3 separate regions of the Homo sapiens genome follow, and regions 1 and 3 are each linked to region 2. The links are contacts of gene promoters, found by promoter capture Hi-C in human tissues and cell types (Jung and others, 2019). All regions are on one chromosome and are shown on one strand. Each heading gives the region's core, a stretch centred on a gene start or on the middle of the fragment in contact. The rest is flanking DNA. Distances are from core to core; before and after follow the strand shown. Region 1 overlaps STYX (serine/threonine/tyrosine interacting protein). Region 2 holds the start of FERMT2 (FERM domain containing kindlin 2). Region 3 overlaps DDHD1 (DDHD domain containing 1).

Evidence for each region. The method cuts DNA at HindIII sites, captures the fragments that hold promoters and counts their contacts. A contact is called where the count stands out against the background at its distance.
Region 1: a fragment that was not itself captured here is called in contact with the fragment with the promoter of FERMT2 in region 2 in 1 of the 25 tissues and cell types used here (mesendoderm cells).
Region 3: a fragment that was not itself captured here is called in contact with the fragment with the promoter of FERMT2 in region 2 in 1 of the 25 tissues and cell types used here (aorta).

The regions. Positions count from the first base shown.
Region 1 is chr14:52,759,831-52,762,576 of GRCh38, forward strand. The region is part of intron 9 of STYX (serine/threonine/tyrosine interacting protein); the gene reads left to right. Among named protein-coding and RNA genes, the nearest start is that of GNPNAT1, 30 kb to the right of the region's middle. The HindIII fragment of the contact is 4,612 bases long and covers 1-2,746 here.
Region 2 is chr14:52,949,530-52,952,460 of GRCh38, forward strand. FERMT2 (FERM domain containing kindlin 2) reads right to left here and starts at 1,521. Exons shown (of 15, transcript NM_006832.3): 1 at 1,392-1,521; 2 at 883-1,048. The coding sequence starts at 1,039. RefSeq lists a silencer at 1,290-1,499 and an enhancer at 2,220-2,798. The HindIII fragment of the contact is 21,614 bases long and covers 1-2,931 here.
Region 3 is chr14:53,115,208-53,118,019 of GRCh38, forward strand. The region is part of intron 1 of DDHD1 (DDHD domain containing 1); the gene reads right to left. Among named protein-coding and RNA genes, the nearest start is that of DDHD1, 37 kb to the right of the region's middle. The HindIII fragment of the contact is 3,158 bases long and covers 1-2,812 here.

The DNA.
Region 1 (2,746 bases), core at 138-2,637, 190 kb before region 2:
TACTTTGTGAATACTTAAAATTGCCATAATCTGACTACTTTGATGCTTTATTCAAGTTTATATCTCTATTTAGAAGTATTTTCTTGGCTGGGTGTGGTGGCTTATACCTATAATCACAGCACTTTGGGAGAACAAGGCATTTGGATTGCTTGAGGCCAGAAGTATGAGATCAGCCTGAGCAACAAAGTGAGACCCAATCTCTAAAAAATAAAAAATTAAAAAAAAATTAGCCAGTCATGGTGGTGCATGGCTGTGGTCCCAGCTACTCAGGAGGCTGAGATGGGAGGATTGCTTGAGCCCAGGAGTTTGAGGCTACAGTGAACAGTGTGCCTTTGCACTCCAGCCTGGCCCACAGAGTGAGACCCCATCCCTAAAAAATTAAAAAAACTTTTTTTTCTTAAAGGCTGGCATTACCAAGAAAAAAGGGTTAAAGACACATTATCAAATCTAAAGTAAAATAATTGCTGTTAGAAATGTCTGATTTTTTTTTGTTGTTCATTTTGATCACACAGAGCATAAGACAGTTTTGATTCTAAGTATACTAACTATAACAGCTTTTTCTATTCTATGTTTATCTTTTCCATGTTGTTTCATATTTTGTTGATGCCTGGCAGATGCACTGACAAAGATGATAAGTCTATGAATTAACCTAATTAGACCACGTTGCTCAGTTTATTCCAAGAGGCAAAATCATAGGCTGCAGAATGTGCTCTGGCTAATTACATCCAATTATGTAGGAATAAAGCTCATGTTTCAACATCAAGAATATTTATTACAAAATATATTGTTATAGTTACCAAGGTTTAAATTTTATTTTAATATTTAATTTACTTTTAATTTTTACTACATTCAAAAGAGAAACAGTGTCATCTGTGTTCAGCCTGTTCATGTAAAATGTTTGTCTTCTAACTTTGTAAGTTTCTTTGCCTTTTACCATGTTGTAGAAAACATTGTTTTTTTTCATTTTTTTTAAACTATTTTTTAAGCTTTTCTTTTTTTTGTGGATACATAGTAGGTTAGGTATTTCGATACAGGCATGCAATGTGTAATAATCACATCATGGAAAAATAGAGTATCCATCCCCTCAATCATTTATCCTTTGTGTTACAAACAATCCAATAATGCTCTTACTTGTTTTCAAATGTGTAAAAACATTCTTTTTTAAAATTAATTTTTGTATTTGAAAGAATAGTATATACATATGTTTAAGAAGATTGGCCTGGCTCAGTGGCTCACACCTGTAATCCCAGCACTTAGGGAGGCCGAGGTGAGTGGAACACCTGAGGTCAGGAGTTCGAGACCAGCCTGGCCAACATGGGGAAACCCCATCTCTACTAAAACTACAAAATTAGCTGGATGTGGTGATGCATGCCTGTAATCCCAGCTACTCAGGAGGCTGAGGCAGGAGAATCGCTTGAACCTGGGAGGCGGAGGTTGTGGTGAGCTGAGATCATGCCATTGCACTCCAGCCTGGGCAACAAGAACAAAACTCCGTGTCAAAAAAAAAAAAAAAAGAATATTGGAAATATCCTGATAGGTACATCTGTGTGAATATACCTGTAAGGTAACTGAAGTGGAATTGGTGGATTCCAGTGCCTTTGAAATTTGATAGATGTTTCCAGATTGCCTCCAAAAAAGATGAAGTAATAATAAACTTATATCACCAGGAAACAAAAAGTGCCTATTCCTCCGAGTGCCTATTTCCTCCTACCCTAATTAACACCAGTAGCCAAAAGTTTTTTTTTTTTTTTTTTTTGAGATGGAGTCTTGCTCTGTCACCCAGGCTGGAGTGCAATGGCGCCATCTCGGTTCACTGCAACCTCCACCTCCCAGGTTCAAACAATTCTCCTGCCTCAGCCTCCCAAGTAGCTGGGATTACAGGCACGTGCCACCACGCCCAGGTAATTTTTGTATTTTTAATAGAGATGGGATGGCCGGGTGTGGTGGCTCACGCCTGTAATCCCAACACTTTGGGAGGCTGAGGTGGGTGGATCACCTGAGATCAGGAGTTTGAGACCAGCCTGGCCAACATCGTGAAACCCTGTCTCTACTAAAATTACAAAAATTAGCCAGGCGTGGTGGCAGGTGCCTGTAATCCCAGCTACTTGGGAGGCTGAGGCAGGAGAATTGCTTGAACTCGGGAGGCGGAGGTTGCAGTGAGCCGAGATGGCATCATTGCACTCCAGCCTGCGGAACAAGAGCAAGACTTCGTCACAAAAGAAAAAAAAAAATAGAGATAGGGTTTTGCCATGTTGCCCAGGATGGTCTTGAACTCCTGACCTCAGGTGATCCACCCACCTTGGCCTCTCAAAGTGCTGGAATTACAGGCGTGAGCCACCACTCCTGGCCCAAAAATGTTTTATCAGATTTTTGTGATCATTTGTTGGTGTTCCTCTCACCGGTTTGTAAGAGCTCTTTTTATATTATGGAAATCTATTTATAGCCTACCGATTTGAAATATCATTTTTATTTTATACCAAATTCTGATATGTCCTTTAGAAGTTTGAAGTTTTCTTTTTTAAGGTGCTTATGGAATGGCTAGTTCTAGTTTTTGAACCGTTAATATGGTGACTTGAGTTACTGGATCACATTAGATTGGATTTCCTAATATTGAATCATCCTTTTGGTCCAGCAATGGATCCCACTTGGTTATGATAGACTGTTCTGTTAATGTATTGCTGGATTGTATTTGCTAATCTTTTTGTTCAGGATTTTGGAATCAGTTAAATAGTAAATTGGTTTGTCT
Region 2 (2,931 bases), core at 271-2,770:
AAGCTCAGGAAGATAGTTCTCTGAGCATTTCTCTTATGATCAAATCATCTATTTAGCTGACTCTTCCAGATGAAAATGGTTTCATTCATCACAAAAATGTGTACTGCACACTCTTCACACACTTCATACTGTAAGATACCTTATTATTTTAAATCGGATATCAATCCAATACATATTTGTACTCAAGCAAACACCGTCAACCTCAAATTAGTTTAACAAAGTCTGCTTTTTAACACAAAGTTCTTTCCTTGGCTTGTTATTAATATAAAACCGAACGCTCGAAACGGCTTACATCGAGCATGGACTATGGATACCAAGTTTGTCAAGCACTGCCCCACCCCTAGTAAGAGTGGATGACTGGAACATTTTAATGCACTCCACCACGTAGAACAGCCACAGAAACTTCACACTGGCGCCAGTAGTTGCACATTTTCCAGCACAGATTTTTCTTAAATGGATTTTGCATCATTCTCTATACCAAACGTCACTAACATTCAGGTATGCTGAAGACATAGATAACCACGGACACTGTAATATCACCCTCCCAACACACTTTCCTCATTCTTTTATCGTTCTGTCAGTAAATGTTAAGAATTAACGAGTTCCCCGGCACACATCCCCCGTCCCGCGTAACTACGCAATTAAGGTTATAATTGGGAGGCTCGAATCATTACATATGAAAATTCAGAGAATAGCAAAACAAAATAAGACGCAAAGGGGAACAGGTCTATCTGCTTAAATACTGAAAGATTTTACATCTCCAAAAAGCATTTGCGAGATGCCAAGATTTCTCAAATGGGCCCCTCCCCCGTCGTGAGCCTCTTTCCTCCCCCTACCAATTCTGGGAAGTCATTAGTTGGACGCGGCTGGGATGCTACTCACCGAGTTTCTCCACCAGCTTAAGCATCACGCCTCCAATGTGCACCTCGCCGGTCACTCTCAGGGTGACATCGCGGTTCAGGTCCGTCACATGGACACTCAGTTCCCACGTCCCGTCCGCGTAGCAGCCATCTGGCATCCTTATCCCGTCCAGAGCCATGGCTCCTTCCTGCGAGCGCGGAGGAAATGGCTCTCGTAAGCGTCACTCCCCCAAAGAAAGGCGAATCCCACCGAATTCGCAGCGCCGGCCACGGGCTGGGAGGTGGTGGAGGACCCGGGGCTTTCGGCAGAAACTCGGGAGGGCGGCGGCGGCCGGGGCTGCGGGAGGACCCTACGCCCCGCTCGCCCCGCAGCGTTCCTCGGTCCCGGCGCCGCCCGCCCCACACCGTCCCCGCCTAGCGGACCGCGGAGGGCTTCACCTGCCGGCCGGCCCCGAGACACAGCGCGGGCTGACTCCCCGTTCCCCTCCCCGCCGCGCCCCCTCGGGTCCCGGCGGGGTCCCGCTCCCTCACCGCGCGCTCCTAGCGCTCCGGGCCCGGGACTCGCGCGGCAACAGGCGAGGGGCTGGAGGCTCGCGGGGCGGCGGTGTCCGCGTCCGGTTCCTCGGCTGGCGAAGCGCTGCCTGTGGCCGGAGCGGCTAATGGAGTCCCGTCGTCGCGGCCCCTCGCCTGGCTCCCCGCGCTCCACCCTCTCCCCGCCCCCTCTGTCCGAGCCTGGCTGGGCTGGGCGCGCTGGCTCCCTCCTTCGCCGCCCGCAGAGCTGCCCTGAGCGGGTCCGGCCGGCCTCGCCTCTGCCCCCGCCCTCCCGGCGCCGCGCTCGGGGGAGGGGGCTGCGGGTCCCGGGCGGGGCGGGGCGGCGTGGGGCGGGGCGGCGCGGGGGTGGCGGGGGGCGCGGCGGGGCGGCAATCTCGGCCCCGCGGAGCGCTGCCCTTTTATGGAAATGAAGGACCCGGCTCAGGAATTGAATCCAACATCCGGGCTCTAGGCGGCGGGCCCTGAGGAGGGGGAGCGGGGGAGCGCGGGCGGCCTTTCCCGGGGCGCTGGTGGCCGGCGGGGCGTCTAGAGCTCAGGCTGGACTGGGGCCCCCGCGGCGTGTGTCCGCGCTGGCAGCAGGGAGAGGGGGCTTGTCCGTGAGAAACGGCCCCAGGAAATTCCCAGGGCAAGGTCGTTTTCGGAGAACAAAGTCCTCTCGCCCCCTCCCCACGCCTGCAGCGAGACAAAAAGCCTCAGGGAGGTGAGAGGTGCCGCACCCCGGGAGCTGGAGAGAGGAGTCTGGGACGGAGAAACTTTAAAAAGTAAATGCCCAAACCAACTCCTTGAATGTCCTACAAAAGAATAAGAAAACCCCGAGGGAGGTGAACCACAAAAATTGCTTTGCAAGCAATGTCCGGCACCATCAGCAACTCCTACTGGACTCCCAGGAGTTTGCAAGCGTTCTTAACCCCTTCGGACGCTCCAGCCAGATGCCAGTCAAACAGATGATGCTCTTGCCTGAGGGGAAAGGAAAGACACAACCTAGTGCCACAGGTTTTACTCAGAAACTGTTTCCCCAGCTTCTCCAGCTCTTTGTACTTATTTGTGTGTTTTTATATGCAAGTTAGAACTAACAGTCTATTAAAGCTGTTAGATGGAGATACATGTTCCATCCCACCCTCAGCCACACCTTGGATTTTAATACTTCTGGAACGGTGCCTGCAGGTACCAGGAAGAGCTAAACAACTTCACCTGTTGAAGACTGGCTAGTGATGGGGAACGGTCCTCCTGCTTCCCGCTTTTGTTTCCACTTCCCCCATTAACTGTTGTACTCTGTTGAGGGAACTCCTTTCAGAAACAGCAAACCAGAGAAACTGCCTCGCTAGCAAATTCATGGGCTCAGAAAATAAACGTCAAGAAGGCTCAGATTAAAATACCTTTTAAAGATAAAAGACTCCAGTTCGCAGTCTCATAATCTTGTCGAATTGTCTCAAACGCTTGGAAAAGGAACTCGCTAGGCAGATAACCTTTTGTTCATTAACATTACTGGGAAACAAGATGAGAGGCCTCAAGAAAGGGG
Region 3 (2,812 bases), core at 200-2,699, 170 kb after region 2:
CAAGAAATATGGCACTATGTGAGAAGACGAAACCTAAGTTTAACTGGTATACCTGAAAGTGGTGGAGAGAATGAAGTCAAGTTGGAAAACACACTTCAGGACATTATCCAGGAGAACTTCCCCAGCCTAGCAAGGCAGGCCAACATTCAAATTCAGGAAACACAGAGACCACCACTAAGATACTGCTCAAGAAGAGCAACCCCAAGACACATAATGATCAGATTCTCCAAGGCTGAAACAAAGGAAAAAAGGTTAAGGGCATCCAGAGAGAAAGGTCAGGTTATCTACAAAGGGAAGCCTATCAGATTAACATCAGATTTCTCTGCAGAAACTTTACAAGCCAGAAGACAGTGGGGGCCAATATTCAACATTCTTAAGGAAAAGAATTTGCAACCCGGAATTTCATATCCAGCCAAACTAAGCTTCATAACCAAAGGAGAAATAAAATCCTTTACAGACAAGCAGATGCCTAGGGATTTTGTCATCACCAAGCCTGCCTTACAAGAACTCCTGAAGGAAGCACTAAATATGGAAAGGAAAAACCGATACCAGCCACTGCAAAAACAAAACAAAATATAAAGACCAATGACATTATGAAGAAACCACATCAAATGATGTGCAAAATAACCAGCTAGCATCACAATAACAGGATCAAATTCACACATAACAATATTAACCTTAAATGTACATGGGCTAACTGCCCCAATTAAAAGATACAGACTGGAAAACTGGATAGAGTCAAGACCCATTGGTGTGCTGTATTCAAGAGACCCATCTCATGTGCAAAGACACACAAAGGCTCAAAATAAAGGGATGGAGGAACATTTACCAAGCAAATGCAATGGGAAAAAAAAGCAGGGGTTGCAATCCTAATCTCTAATAAAACAGACTTTACCAACAAGGATCAAAAAAGACAAAGAAGGACATTACATAATGGTAAAGGGATCAATGCAACAAGGAGAGCTAACTATCCTAAATATATACACACCCAATACGGGAGCACCCAGATTCATAAAACAAATTCTTAGAGACCTAGAAAGAGACTTAAGACTCCCACACAATAATAATAGGAGACTTTAACTACCACTGTCAATATTAGACGGATCAATGAGACAGAAAATTAACAAGGATATTCAGGACTTGAACTCAACTCTGGACCAAGATGACCTAATAGACATCTACGGAACTCTCCACCCCAATCAACAGAATATATATTCTTCTCAGTGCCACATAGCACTTATTCTAAAATGACCACATAATTGGAAGTAAAACAATCCTCAACAAATGCAAAAGAATGGAAATCATAACAAACAGTCTCTCAGACCACAGTGCAATCAAATTAGAACTCAGGATTAAGAATCTCACTCAAAACCACACAACTACATGGAAATCAAACAACCTGCTCCTGAATGACTACTGGGTAAATCATGAAATTAAGGCAGAAATAAAGAAGTTCTTTGAAACCAATGAGAACAAAGAGACAACGAGTGAGGATTTCTGGGACACAGCTAAAGCGGTGTTAAGATGGAAATTTATAGCACTAAATACCCACATCAGAAAGCAAGAAAGACAGAAAACCAACATCCTAACATCGCAATGAAAAGAACTAGAGAAGCAAGAGCAAACAAATTCAAAAGCTGGCAGAAGCAAGAAATAGAGCAGAACTAAAGGAGATAGAGGACACAAAAAACCTTTCAAAAAATCAATGAATCCAGGAGCTTGGTTTTTGAAAAGATTAACAAAATTGATAGACTGCTAGCTAGACTAATAAAGAAAAGAGAGAAGAATTAACAAAATAGACTGCTAGCTAGACTAATAAAGAAGAAAAGAGAGAAGAATCAAATAGGCACATGAAAATGATAAAAGGGATATCACCACTAATCCCACAGAAATACAAACTACCATCAGATAATACCATAAACACCTCTATGCAAATAAAGCAGAAAATCTAGAAGAAATAGGGGTCCCTTCCAAGATGGCCAAATAGGAACAGCTCTGGTCTGCAGCTCCCAGTGAGATCGACACAGAAGTGAATGATTTCTGCATTTCCAACTGAGGTACCTGGTTCATCTCATTGGGACTGGTTGGACAGTGGGTGCAGCTCACGGAGGGCAAGCTGAAGTATGGTGGGGCGTCGCCTCACCCAGGAAGCAGAAAGGGTCAGGGGATTTCCCTTTCCTAGCCAAGGGAAGCTGTGACAGACTGTACCTGGAGAAATGGTACACTCCTCACCAAATACTGCACTATTCCCACAGTCTTAGCAACCGGCAGACCAGGAGATACCCTCCTGTCACTGGTTTGGCAGGTCCCACACCCACGGAGCCTTGCTCACTGCTAGCGCAACAGTCTGAGATCAACCTTTGAGGCTGTAGCCTGGTGGGGGAAAGGGGCATCTGCCATTGCTGGGGCTTAAGTAGCTCACAGTGTAAACAAAGAGGCCAGGAAGCACAAACTGGGCAGAACCCACTGCAGCTCAGCAAGGCCTACTGCCTCTATAGATTCCACCTCTGGGGGCAGGGCACAGCTGAACAAAAGGCAGCAGACAGCTTCTGCAGACTTAAACATCCCTGGCTGACAGCTCTGAAGGGAGTAGTGATTCTCTCAGCAGGGCATTCGAACTCTGAGAATGGACAGATTGCCTCCTCAAGCGGGTCCCTGACCCCTGTGTTGCCTGACTGGGAAACACCTCCCAGTATTGGCCGACAGACACCTCAAACAGGCGGGTGCCCCTCTGGGACGAAGCTTCCAGAGGAAGGATCAAGCAGCAATATTTGTTGTTCTGCAGCCTCCGCTGGTGATACCCAGGCAAACA